2 separate regions of the Homo sapiens genome follow, and region 1 is linked to region 2. The links are contacts of gene promoters, found by promoter capture Hi-C in blood cells and fetal thymus (Javierre and others, 2016). All regions are on one chromosome and are shown on one strand. The core of a region is centred on a gene start or on the middle of the fragment in contact, and the rest is flanking DNA. Distances in the headings are between cores, read along the strand shown. Region 1 has its middle 40 kb from the start of KRTAP19-8. Region 2 holds the start of KRTAP8-1 (keratin associated protein 8-1).

The links. Contacts are between HindIII fragments. The CHiCAGO score rates a contact against its expected background, and 5 or more counts as called.
Region 1: a fragment that was not itself captured here is called in contact with the fragment with the promoter of KRTAP8-1 in region 2 in 1 of 17 cell types (M2 macrophages); the score reaches 5.7 in M2 macrophages.

The regions. Positions count from the first base shown.
Region 1 is chr21:31,075,518-31,080,933 of GRCh38, reverse strand. No RefSeq gene overlaps it. Among named protein-coding and RNA genes, the nearest start is that of KRTAP19-8, 40 kb to the right of the region's middle. The HindIII fragment of the contact is 5,615 bases long and covers 1,236-5,416 here.
Region 2 is chr21:30,808,962-30,814,569 of GRCh38, reverse strand. KRTAP8-1 (keratin associated protein 8-1) reads left to right here and starts at 1,296. Exons shown (of 1, transcript NM_175857.4): 1 at 1,296-1,873. The coding sequence starts at 1,350. The coding sequence ends at 1,541. The HindIII fragment of the contact is 5,395 bases long and covers 1-4,291 here.

The DNA.
Region 1 (5,416 bases), core at 2,794-5,293, 260 kb before region 2:
GAAATTGATTAATGATCATGGACTGTTATTATTGTTGCAAGAAAAGAAACAAGTGGGACAGATTTTATAAAAGCAAGCAAGAGCCAAAAAGCCAGGGGAATACTGTAGAATTGAGTAGTCCTTGGTGAAAATTCACTTCCTATGCTTATCTTCCTGTATTGTCTGATACGTATCTTTTCAGCTTCTTCTATCATGCCAAGAAAACACTAACACATTTCATAAACTCTATGGGACAGGAGTCCAGGCATGGCTTAGCTGGATCCTCTGTAAAACCGCAATCAAGGTGTTGACCAGGACTATGGTCTCATCTAAGGCTCAACGGGGGAAGGATTTGCTTCCAAGGATGCATGATTATTGGCAGAATTCAGTTCCTGGCAGGCTGTTGAATTGTGGGCTTCAGTTTCTTACTATCAGCCAAGGGCCACTGACACGTGCCCACTCCATAGACAGTTCACAACATGGCAACTTGCTTCTTCAAAGCCACCAAAGGAGACACAGTCTCCTAGCAAGGTGGGCATCACAGTCTTCTCTTACGTAATCGTGCATACATAGTCATGTTGGTCATTTTCTCTTGAACTGAGCAACTTATTTTACTTTCCAGAGCTTTGATTTCTTCATTTACACAGGGAAGGAAATAATGCCTTCCATAAAGGAGCTGGGTCATCAGCATCAAATAAGATGACGTGTAAGTGGCAGCTGGTGCAGTAAAGGGTACCTGGATTATTCCCTCCTTTTTCCCAGCCCACCTCTCTCTACCCTGGCTGTCCACCCCTGTACACACACATACTCCCAATGCCCAGTGCCCTGCAGTTTTCATTGCTGCCCTCACTCACATTCAAGTCTGCTCTTAGGAAGCCTTGCATTTGGGGGCAGGGGGTGATGGAAGAGTAAAATGGAAGGCTGGTGAGAAGTCATTGGAAATGTAGGTGAAAGGGATGATTGTGGGGTGATTTCACAGTTAATGGTGAATTCCTGCTTGATGTTACACAGTTTTTTTTTTTTTTTCAGTCCATCTCTAATGGTGGAATAAAAGGCTCTCTTGCTCCAGTTTCAGATGTAGTGGGAGCTGGGGTGGGGAGGAGGTAGTTGGGGACATAGGGCTTTCTCAGCTCTGGAATCATGCAATAGACTTATTTCTTTCTTCATCTACCACAGTAGTCAGCCAAGTCAAAAAAGAAAAGCCTACCCAGGCCTTTGTTTAGTGACTTGGGAGATAGTGGAGGGGATGCAAAGCTTCATTGTTCTTATTGAGGCAAAGGAAGTATTCCTTAGATTCATTGTTACATCATGATTGCATGGGTCTTGTTTTTAGAGTCACTAGCTCTTTGGCCTAGAACAAACCACTCAACTTTACTGAGCCTCAGTTTCCTCATCTGCAGCAGGCCAGGGTACCATTCTGTCCTTGCCTATCATTAGAAGGCTGGAGGTAGAGAAAATTAAATGAGAAAATAGATGAGAAAGCATTTTGGCTATGAGCGATGGCTCAGGCCTGTCATCCCAGCACTTTGGGAGGCTGAGGTGGGAGGATTGCTTGAGCCCAGGAATTCGAGACCAGCTTTGGCAACATAGTGAGACCCCATTTTTATTGAAAAATAAAAATAAATGTAAAAAGAAAGCACTTCATAAGCTATAAAGTGCCATACATATCACAAACATTGAGTATCTTTGCTAACAGCTTGGACGGATTCTGGCTCCAGATAAGAGGAATGTAACTTGACCATTGTTTCCAGCAGGACATGAAGCAATGTCTTTACCTAGTTAACGTCATGTTTGGTACGTTCTGCTCCTCTTTTCCCATGTCAACAAAGCTATTACTTTGTGCACCATTTCCCTGAAGGCTGGAGGATTGGCTAGAGATGCTGATAGGAGGCAAGATTGAATTACCAACTTTGAACTGAAAAGATGGGTGACTCAAAGCCACAGTAGCCAGGACTGGGTGGGGAGATATCATAGAAAACTGAACCACAGATAAAATTCATGTTTTGATTTGTTCTTTCACTTTCTCTTGGACTAACTTTAAAACCAAAAACCGATGAGAGTCATCACTCAAATAGATACTGGCTTTCAGGCTGTTCTCACAGAAAACCTCAGGCATTGCTTATGTTCTTGGGGTCTGCGTTGCTTTGTGTCCTGAATCAAGTCAGTTGCAAGTGAAAAAAAGGTCAATAAACTCAAATTAATAAAGCAAGGACATATTATCTCACTTAACTGAAAAGCTCGGGGGTTCCAGGGGTGTTTTGGGGTGTTGCCTTGATGTCTCTGTTTTCAGTTCTGCTCTTTTCTGTGCTGATTCTGATCTCAGCCTGATGTCCCTCTGTGGTCTCAAGGTAGCTCCCGACAGCTCCCACTAATCCCCAGTCCTCTCTTCCCACCAATTTCAACAAGAATCCCATACTGAGTCTTCTGCTGGCACTGAAGGGTTATTATCTGCAGAGCGACATGCAAATAAAACTTTTCAGAAGATGATGGTATTGGCGGTAGTGTTGTTAATGTGTATAGGCCTGTGTATATGGCACGGCAGGCAGTGGAAGAAGAAATGATTAACAATGGTTTAAGTTGTCTGCTTAAAACCAGGTGTATTTGTCTTCTGTGGTTTCTGTCACAAATTATCACAAATTATGTAGCTTAAAACAGAAACTTATTCTCTCAGAGTTCTGGAGGCCAGGAGTCTGAAATGGGGTTGTTGTCAGGGTCAGGGCTATACTCCTTCTAGAGGCTCCAGAAGATATTCCATCCATTGCCCCTCTGGCTTCTGGTTGCTGTCGGCATTCTTGGGTGTGTGGTTGCATCTCTCCAATCTCCACCTCCATGGTTACATTGCTTCCTCCTATTCTCTGTGTCTTCCCCTCTTCTGTCTCAAATTTCCCTTTGCCCTTTGTTTATAAGGACACTTGTCATTGAAGTTAGGGCCCACCTAATTATCCAGGATCATCTTATCTCAAGATTCTTAATCACAACTGCAAACATACTTCTCCCCAATAAATTAACATTTAAAGGTTTTGGGAATTAGGATGGGAACGTATCTTTTTCATTTTTATTCATTTTTTTGAGACACGGTTTCCCTCTGTCACCCAAGCTGGAGTGCAGTGGTGTGACCATAGCTCAGTGTAGGCTCGAACTTTTGGGCTCAAGAGATCCTCCTGCCTCAGCCTCCCTAGCAGCTAGTACTATAAGCATGCAGCATCACATTCAGCTAGTTTTTTTTTTTTTTTTGTAGAGATGGGGTCTTGCTGTGTTGCCCAGGTTGGTCTTGAATTCCTGGGCTCAAATGATCCTCTCACGTTGGCTTCCTAAAATGCTGGGACTACTGGCATGAGCCACCACACGTGACCCTATTTTTGGGGACCACCATTCCACCTATTATACTATAACAGGATATGTATAAATGTTCTCCTGAAATTCTCTCTAGGTCTTGAATATTTTTCTCTGGTTGCTTAAGCTCTAATTTAAGTCATGTTTTCAGAGCCAATTTCTCCAGCAGACCTGTAAAAGATCTAAACTCTACTTTGAATTCTCAAATGGAGGTGAGGGGCAAGACTTGAAGGAAGTGAGAGGAACTGATTTGGAACTGTGATTGCTGAGGAGGGGAAGAAGGGCATGAGGGCAGGTGGGGAGCAGACTCCAGAGAGTGCAGTTTACTGGCTCCTAAGAGAGGCTGTTGCTTGAGACCATTCCTCACAGACCCTGCCTCGCCCATAGGCTGACAGTAAGAAACCACGTGTGATAACCTTTTCAGAGTCTCCAGGGAAATTTAGCTTTCTGTAACAGCACAAAGCTCATACAAACCCATCTCCTATAAGTGTTTGCATATAGGGTTGCATATTTCATTTATAATAAATTAGATTTTTTCTCATCCCAGGTAGGAAATCATTTCCTAAGAGTTGCTAATCTTACCGAATGAAAGATAATTCATGAGCTTCATGTTTATCTGGTGAATATAATAACATATTGCAAAGAAACAGGTCTTCTGCATTTCATTTTCATGCAGCCACTAGTTTTGGGCCCAACTGTGCTCTGCTCATGGCTGTGATCACCGTAGCTGCTTCTCCCAGCACCCGGTGGTCTGTGATAATTAGCAAGTGCACCTGGAAAGTTCTAGAACTGCTTGGAAATGGAAGTGCCAAGTGATATGATTCTGCGACTACAAAGGATATGTGAGGATTAAGGCAGGGCTGGTCCTGAGCCCTCATGCACTCTGTCTTTGGGAGAGTCACAGCGAGTTGAAAGTTTCACACTAGTCTATAGCCTTTGGGTGAGCCAGGTCTCATGGTGAGAGCTTTGCACAATCAGTGCAGAAGGACAAATAGGGAATGTAGTTCCCCTCAGTTGCACTGGGCCACCTGTGATATGCTCGTGGAAGAGCCCCGGGGTTGTCTTCACCCTTCCTGCCATCTTGTCAACTTTCAAGTTTTCAGGGTCACCAGGGCCTCTGTCTTCTACATGGAAGACAGAAGTCTGATTATCTTTCCATTGGTCTCTGCCTTCGTTCTTCATGCCACCAGCAGGATTATCTTCTGAAACTTTATACACAAGTCATTCCTCAGTAGATAACCCTTCCCTGCTTGCCTCATTGTCACCAAATAATGTTCCAACTCGACAGCCCAGCTCTGAAGACCCTCCTGGGTCTGGGGGTTATCTACCCCTTAAAAATATATTTTTCTTTTCTCCTTAATGAGCCGTCAACTCTTCCACATCTTTAGCTCTTTTTGCTACTTTGAATGACCTCCACTAAACTGTATTGTCAGCTTCCTTATTAGTTGAATGGGAATGACATCCTTAACTCTCCCAGACAGAGCGGTTGATTAAATGGACTATTTAATGGAAAGTTTCTAGGACAGCACCTGATGCACTTATGTGATTACAGCGTGATTACGCAACCTCCATCTTTGGGAATTACTTATTACAAGCTCTCCCTCATAGCTTAGCTTGAGAGCTGCTGCTTCTCTGATGCTGTCGTTGTCCCCTCAGCTTTGGGAGATTTTTTTCCCACTGAAATTCAAAGCACTTCATCGCCATGGCATAATTTGGTGTTATGTACAAGTTACTGTGTGCTTGGGTTTGGTATCGGGTCCAATTTTATGTGCCTCTCAGTGCCCCATGTTACATCTTTTCTTTCCCATAAGTCTTGAACCATAACTTCCTCTGTGGCAAGGGCTCTCTGGGCAGCTGTGCCCCTGGCTCACTTCCTACACATCACAGAGCTCACTGTGACTATGCAATGTGGCTGTTGTGACCTCCACTGTGCTCATGGATGTAGAACCACAGCATATCCAGCACTAAAGTGATAGAGTCTTGGTCCTGTGGCCAAGAAGAAGCAAGATGGAAGCCCAGCTAGTTTCCCTGGGGATGAATTGTCTTAACTAAGTTCCTGGGGCCTTGAATGTAGTAGCTAAAGACAGACCAGGGGGGTTTGAGG
Region 2 (5,608 bases), core at 47-2,546:
TGTCTCATCTTGTTCTTGGATTCAGCCTTTGATTCCTAGCTGCTGATAGCAGGGAGCAAAGTTACCTCTGGGTTATGAAGTAAAATCTGGGAGAGCTCATGTGTAATACATATCTGTTTTGTGGCCTTCTAGAATGATTCCTATTATCTCTGTGCCTATTTCTGTTCCATATGCCCTCTTTGGTATTTGTTCTGTAAGTTCTCTACTAAGTGCCACTGTAAGAAATCTTAATGCAGGTGTCTGAGAATAATATATCAGGTCTTACATGATCCAAGATAGTTTTGATCAGCCTTATCCCTCCTTTAACTCATGCTTGAGAACTGACTCTCTGTTTAGAAAGGAATAACATTCCTTCTTTATCCTGGGGTGCATGATCATTGTAAAAGTGAAATAACTGATTTCATGTTGTCATCTGGCCCTTTATAATATCATCACATTTGTCAGACAATCTAGTTTCATTAGATCTAAGAGAAAAAAAATTTTAAATCTTACAATAAATTTTTTAATTCATTTTTCTGTGTTTACCTTATTAGTTTCAATGTTTAGTTTGAAATATGTTTCAGGCCAAAAAATTAAATTTGTTTGACAATTCAGTACAAGGATTAATCCAAATACTCCGTTTTAAAATCTCAATACTATTAATTCAAGTAGTCTTCTAGAAATGTGATGTTAGGTATAGTTTAGGAGGGGACTATGATTAAGATTACACTTTTAACCAGTTTCCCAAACACGGTAGCTGTAGTAGAGGAAAAAAAAAAGACTCTTTCTCATGAGTTCCATTGCACTTGTCTTTCATATTCCAAAAAAGAGAATCCTTGAAGCAGGTGAATACTAAGACATACTTTAATTTTGAGAATTTTGAGATAGACTCACTATCCATTTGTTATTTTATATATTAATGTATTTAACACATATTTATTGAATTTCAACTGTGTGTTGTGGAAATTCAGAGAGCAAGAGGACTGCATAACAGCTAACAACCTCAGAATATTTCTTGATATTATATACCTGCTTACAGAGTTATATGGGGTCTATAAGACAGAGTGCTTTGAAGTCCTGGCAATAATTTTTTTTTTTTTAGGAAGGGAAATAATTTGTTTAAAGGCATCTTCTCCCTGTATTGCATCACACGAGAGCTTTCTTAAGCCACTGTAAAGACATCATAAGCAAGAGCAAAACAAGTTAATGAGCTTTTTAGAATGTAAATTGGTGTCAAGAATGAAAATGAGGGCTTTGTGTTTTTCACCACCCACCAGAGCTGGGATATATAAAGAAGGTTCTGAGACTAGGAATCCATCCCACTGAGGAAACGCACTCTGTTGCTACCTAAGCCCTCCACTCCCGACACCATGCTCTGCGACAACTTCCCCGGGGCTGTCTTCCCAGGATGCTACTGGGGCAGCTATGGCTACCCGCTGGGATATAGCGTTGGCTGTGGCTATGGCAGCACCTACTCTCCAGTGGGCTATGGCTTCGGCTATGGCTACAACGGCTGTGGGGCTTTCGGCTACAGGAGATACTCGCCATTTGCTCTCTACTGATTGGCTGAAATCCCCGAGGTGTAGCATCTTCTCTCCCTTGAAGGCTGAGCCCCACATCTCCAGGTTCCCCCCGTATCCACTCCTTCAGTCCTCATTTGCTCATCAACCTCAGAGACACTGCTTTCCAACTTACCTCGAGTCCCAGGGGAGGAAAATGAAAAAGCAGACGCTTCCTCAAGCTGCCTCCCCTGGCTGATGTTCTCTGGGACATTTTCGGAAATTTGACCTCCCACTTGTCATGAGCTACTTTTGAATTTTCCATGACACTCATGACTTGTGATGAAGTCATGGATATGTCTATCAAAATCTCAATAAATTTGTCTCAGCTGGTATAATATTCTCATGCTAGAGCGAAGTTTCCTTTCTTGGTGTGTGCATATTTTCTGTTACATGGGTGGTGGGGGGGAAGTGAATTTATTTTTCTCATGTGGGCATTAGGAACAGCCAGAAAGCAAAGAATTACTGATCCTGTGTGATAAGCAGGTAAGAGGGTGGGTTGCAGGTAATGACTTAAAAGGTTGCCTGTTTGAACCTTCTTTAAATTTTATGATGCCCACCTCCAACCCAATGGAGCACCATTTATTGCTCGGGGTCCCCTTCTCATCTCACTACTTCTGCTCCTCCGCAAGAAAACCCAACACAGGAGGAACTTTTTCAGTCACTTCCATGTTAGTCCAAATGAAATCCACTGTGTTCCCTTTCCCAGGGACTAAGGATTATAGACTAAAGTGCCATGCCCCCTAATGAAGGATGCTGGAGCATTGAGTAATAGAGAAGCCACAGACATCCTTTGGAAATCTGAGAGTTTTTAAGGTGAAGGGATAAATCCCCTATATCAAACCATCTAAGGTGTCTATTTTGTAGCTTTGAAGCACCTGGGTTATTCACAACCATGACAAGTTTCTTAATCTTTATAGAATCAACACCAGATAGCGAGTTTCACTTAAAAGATATGAGCTGTAATGAATATTTCTGAAGATGTATCAGCTTTTCTCTGTGTTCCTTTAGGGAAGGGAGCAATTTCCTTTTATAAGCCAGATAAAAAAAGTCTCAATCCTTCTATTGAAAACATCTTATGTATAGTACAAATATTCTTGGTGGTAACAAAATTTGGCTTAACCCTGCTTTTTTATTGAATATGTGCAAGTGATTATATTGCATATGGTTCACTTCGTAGTTAAAAACATAAAGACTATTTGGCGAGGTCATTTCAGAAGAGAGTATTTTCTCCACCATACTTTATCTAATGTATATCTTTTTTAAAAAATCGGGAAATAATTGATTGTTTTCCTTTTTAGCGATAGTAGACAAGGTTACAGCCAACAAAATCTCCAGTTTGCAACTTTCTAGCAGCCATATGTTAATTCATGCTGAGAATTGTGAATTAATTAAACATGCAGGTTAAAATAGAACAGAAAAAGAAAAGTGGGATTTTTCAGAAATTAGAGCATCAGATCGAAACTAGAAGGTTATCAGTCTGTTCTGTAAAGATGACTGACTTATATAAAAATCTGGGCTTGAAGGGACCTCAGAGAGCACCTCCTCTAGTGTTTTGGAAATTTCAGTATGCAGGAGAATTACCTGAGTAGCTGACTTAAAAATTTAGATTCTTATGCCTTGCCCCTAGGGATTCTGACTCAGTACATCTGGGATCAGGTCTAGAAATCTAAACTTTTAAGATGCTCCTGATGACTTCTAGTACAGGTGGTCTGAGACCCACACTCTAAGAAGCACTGTTTCAGGTCATTACAGATGTACACTACCCACCCACCCACACCATTTATTTATGACACTGAGTCTTGATAAAGGAAAGTCTTTTACTCAAAAAGTGTCTAGCACATCTCAACAAGACAAGGACAGAGGAGAGAAGATACTTTACATCCCCAAAGGAGTACAGGAGGTACAACATCTGTGTTTAGCACTTTTCAACTTGAGTTAATGTGTGGTTGCTAGAAAGTTCCAAACTGAAGATTGCGTTGGCTGTAACAATGTCTACTATTTTTAGACAGAGAAAGGATCTATTAGGTAGATATCCAGTAGTCTGGTGCTGAAGGCTCAGATGCCATGACCTGCTAAAAGGAAAAAGTATGTTATGTAAGGATTTTATAAATTCACTTTCTCCTATTGCATAGAAGTGTACAAATTCCTAGTGTGCCTACATTACTTAATATTATTTAATGATTATTTTTAAAAACTGAAATTCAGTCTTTTTAAATGCGTATACCAAGATCCCACCCATGCACATTCTGATGGGAAGATCTATGGGGTCTGGGGATTTGTATTTAAAAAAATCCCTGTAAGTAATTTGGTTTTATGCCATCAATTTAAAACAATTACAGGGTCTGGTTTCATGGCTGTTCTTTTCTGTCTTTTTTAGTTCTCTCCTTTTATTTTGAATTTAAAAACCAAGATAATTCCTCCATATTTATATAGAATTCATAAAAAATGAAAACAGTAAGTAATATGTTACAGGTCAATTTAAGAAAAGCCTGGAATGAACACTTACTGCTACATTTAGGCTTAATGGTAGTCTGTATAGAGTGTAGTTAGGTATTTGTTTCTAATTGCTTTATCAACTTTGGTATTGATCTGAGCCCAGTTTAGTGCTCTGTACATAGTAGAAACTCAATATGTATGACAAGATTATCAGACCACTTTCCTCAATAAACACGAAAAAGATGTTAAACATCTGTTTGCTACCATCGTGCAGTGCCATTCTTTAATTCATAGCCATTTGTGAGCTGGAAGCTTGATGTCTGTGCATTTTATGACTTAGATTTATCTCACAAAGTCACACAGGAAGTATTGTTTTGATTTTCTATTTCACCATTAATTGCTTGTTTCTTCTCATTGAAAACCAGGCTGCATATCTTTAACATCTCCCTGCTTAATACAGTGTATATAACTGAGAACTTGATTTGAATATTAAGGGCATCTTATGTATAGAAGAATCTTCTAGAGAGACCCCCAGTAAGTCGAATTAAACCTCCTTTCCTTATCATTAGGCTTCCCAGTCCCTTGACTACTCTGAAGTAATAATTCACCAGTGGTAACTGAATATATATATATGTTAATTTGTATTTGCCCATTTGATTCACAGGGGAGGTTTAGAGTCCTACAGAATTTTTCATGGCTAAGTAGGATAGATAACATGTTATGTGATACCCTATTTAACATTCCTCATGTACTCTCTAAAGGCGGTTTTGAAGGGATCTGACATCTGCCCTCTGTTGCAAGGTTGGCAGAGAAACATTCTCCACGTGGCATCCTTCATGTGACCAGTGTATCTGATGACACTATCCAACAAAGGTGTTGACCATAACATTATGACATCCAAAAATGTGAAGATAGCAGAGATGTAGTGAATCTGATAAAAGCAGGGAGTCCTGTACTATATTCACATTATTCTTGCATATAAGAAATGACCAAATAATTTGCCCTTCCTCCTGTTTTTTCTTTTCCTGCACTGTCTTCCCTTCTGCTTCTGTATCTTTCTTCAAGATTATATTCTCTTCCCTTAGATCTTGTTATAGTAGGATCAGTTCCCAAGCGGATTTGAGAGCAGTTTCTCACCGAGAAGTCAGAACAAAAGAGGAGCCTTCCTAGCACAGGGTAATCTCATAGTCGTAGGAAGTCAGTTGACAAAAGAAGTCAACCTTTCCCAAATATTCATACTGGCCCTTCTTTCCAGAGCCCCCCCAAAAGCTTTCAACCACAGTGGATACCTCAGGAAGATTATCAAATGCCTTATAAATCAGAGCTCTTCTCAGTAAAGATAGAAAAGGACGCAAACATAAAACACTGAAGAATAAATACATGATGCTGGTATTTAGTAAATTTTACCCAAAGTGTAGGTCTTTTCTCATGCAGAAAAGCCTTTTCTTGCTCTTTTGTCAATAACTTTAGACACAGTAGGCAAAGCAGAAACTAAAAATGCTTCATACGCATATGGGTGATTTTTGGTTTCCCATAATTTTCCTTAAGACGAATGTTGGCCTTTCTCAGAGCCATCCAAAGTGTATAGCTTTTGCCCAGTGCACAGGTTCAACCCACAGATTTCTGATGGC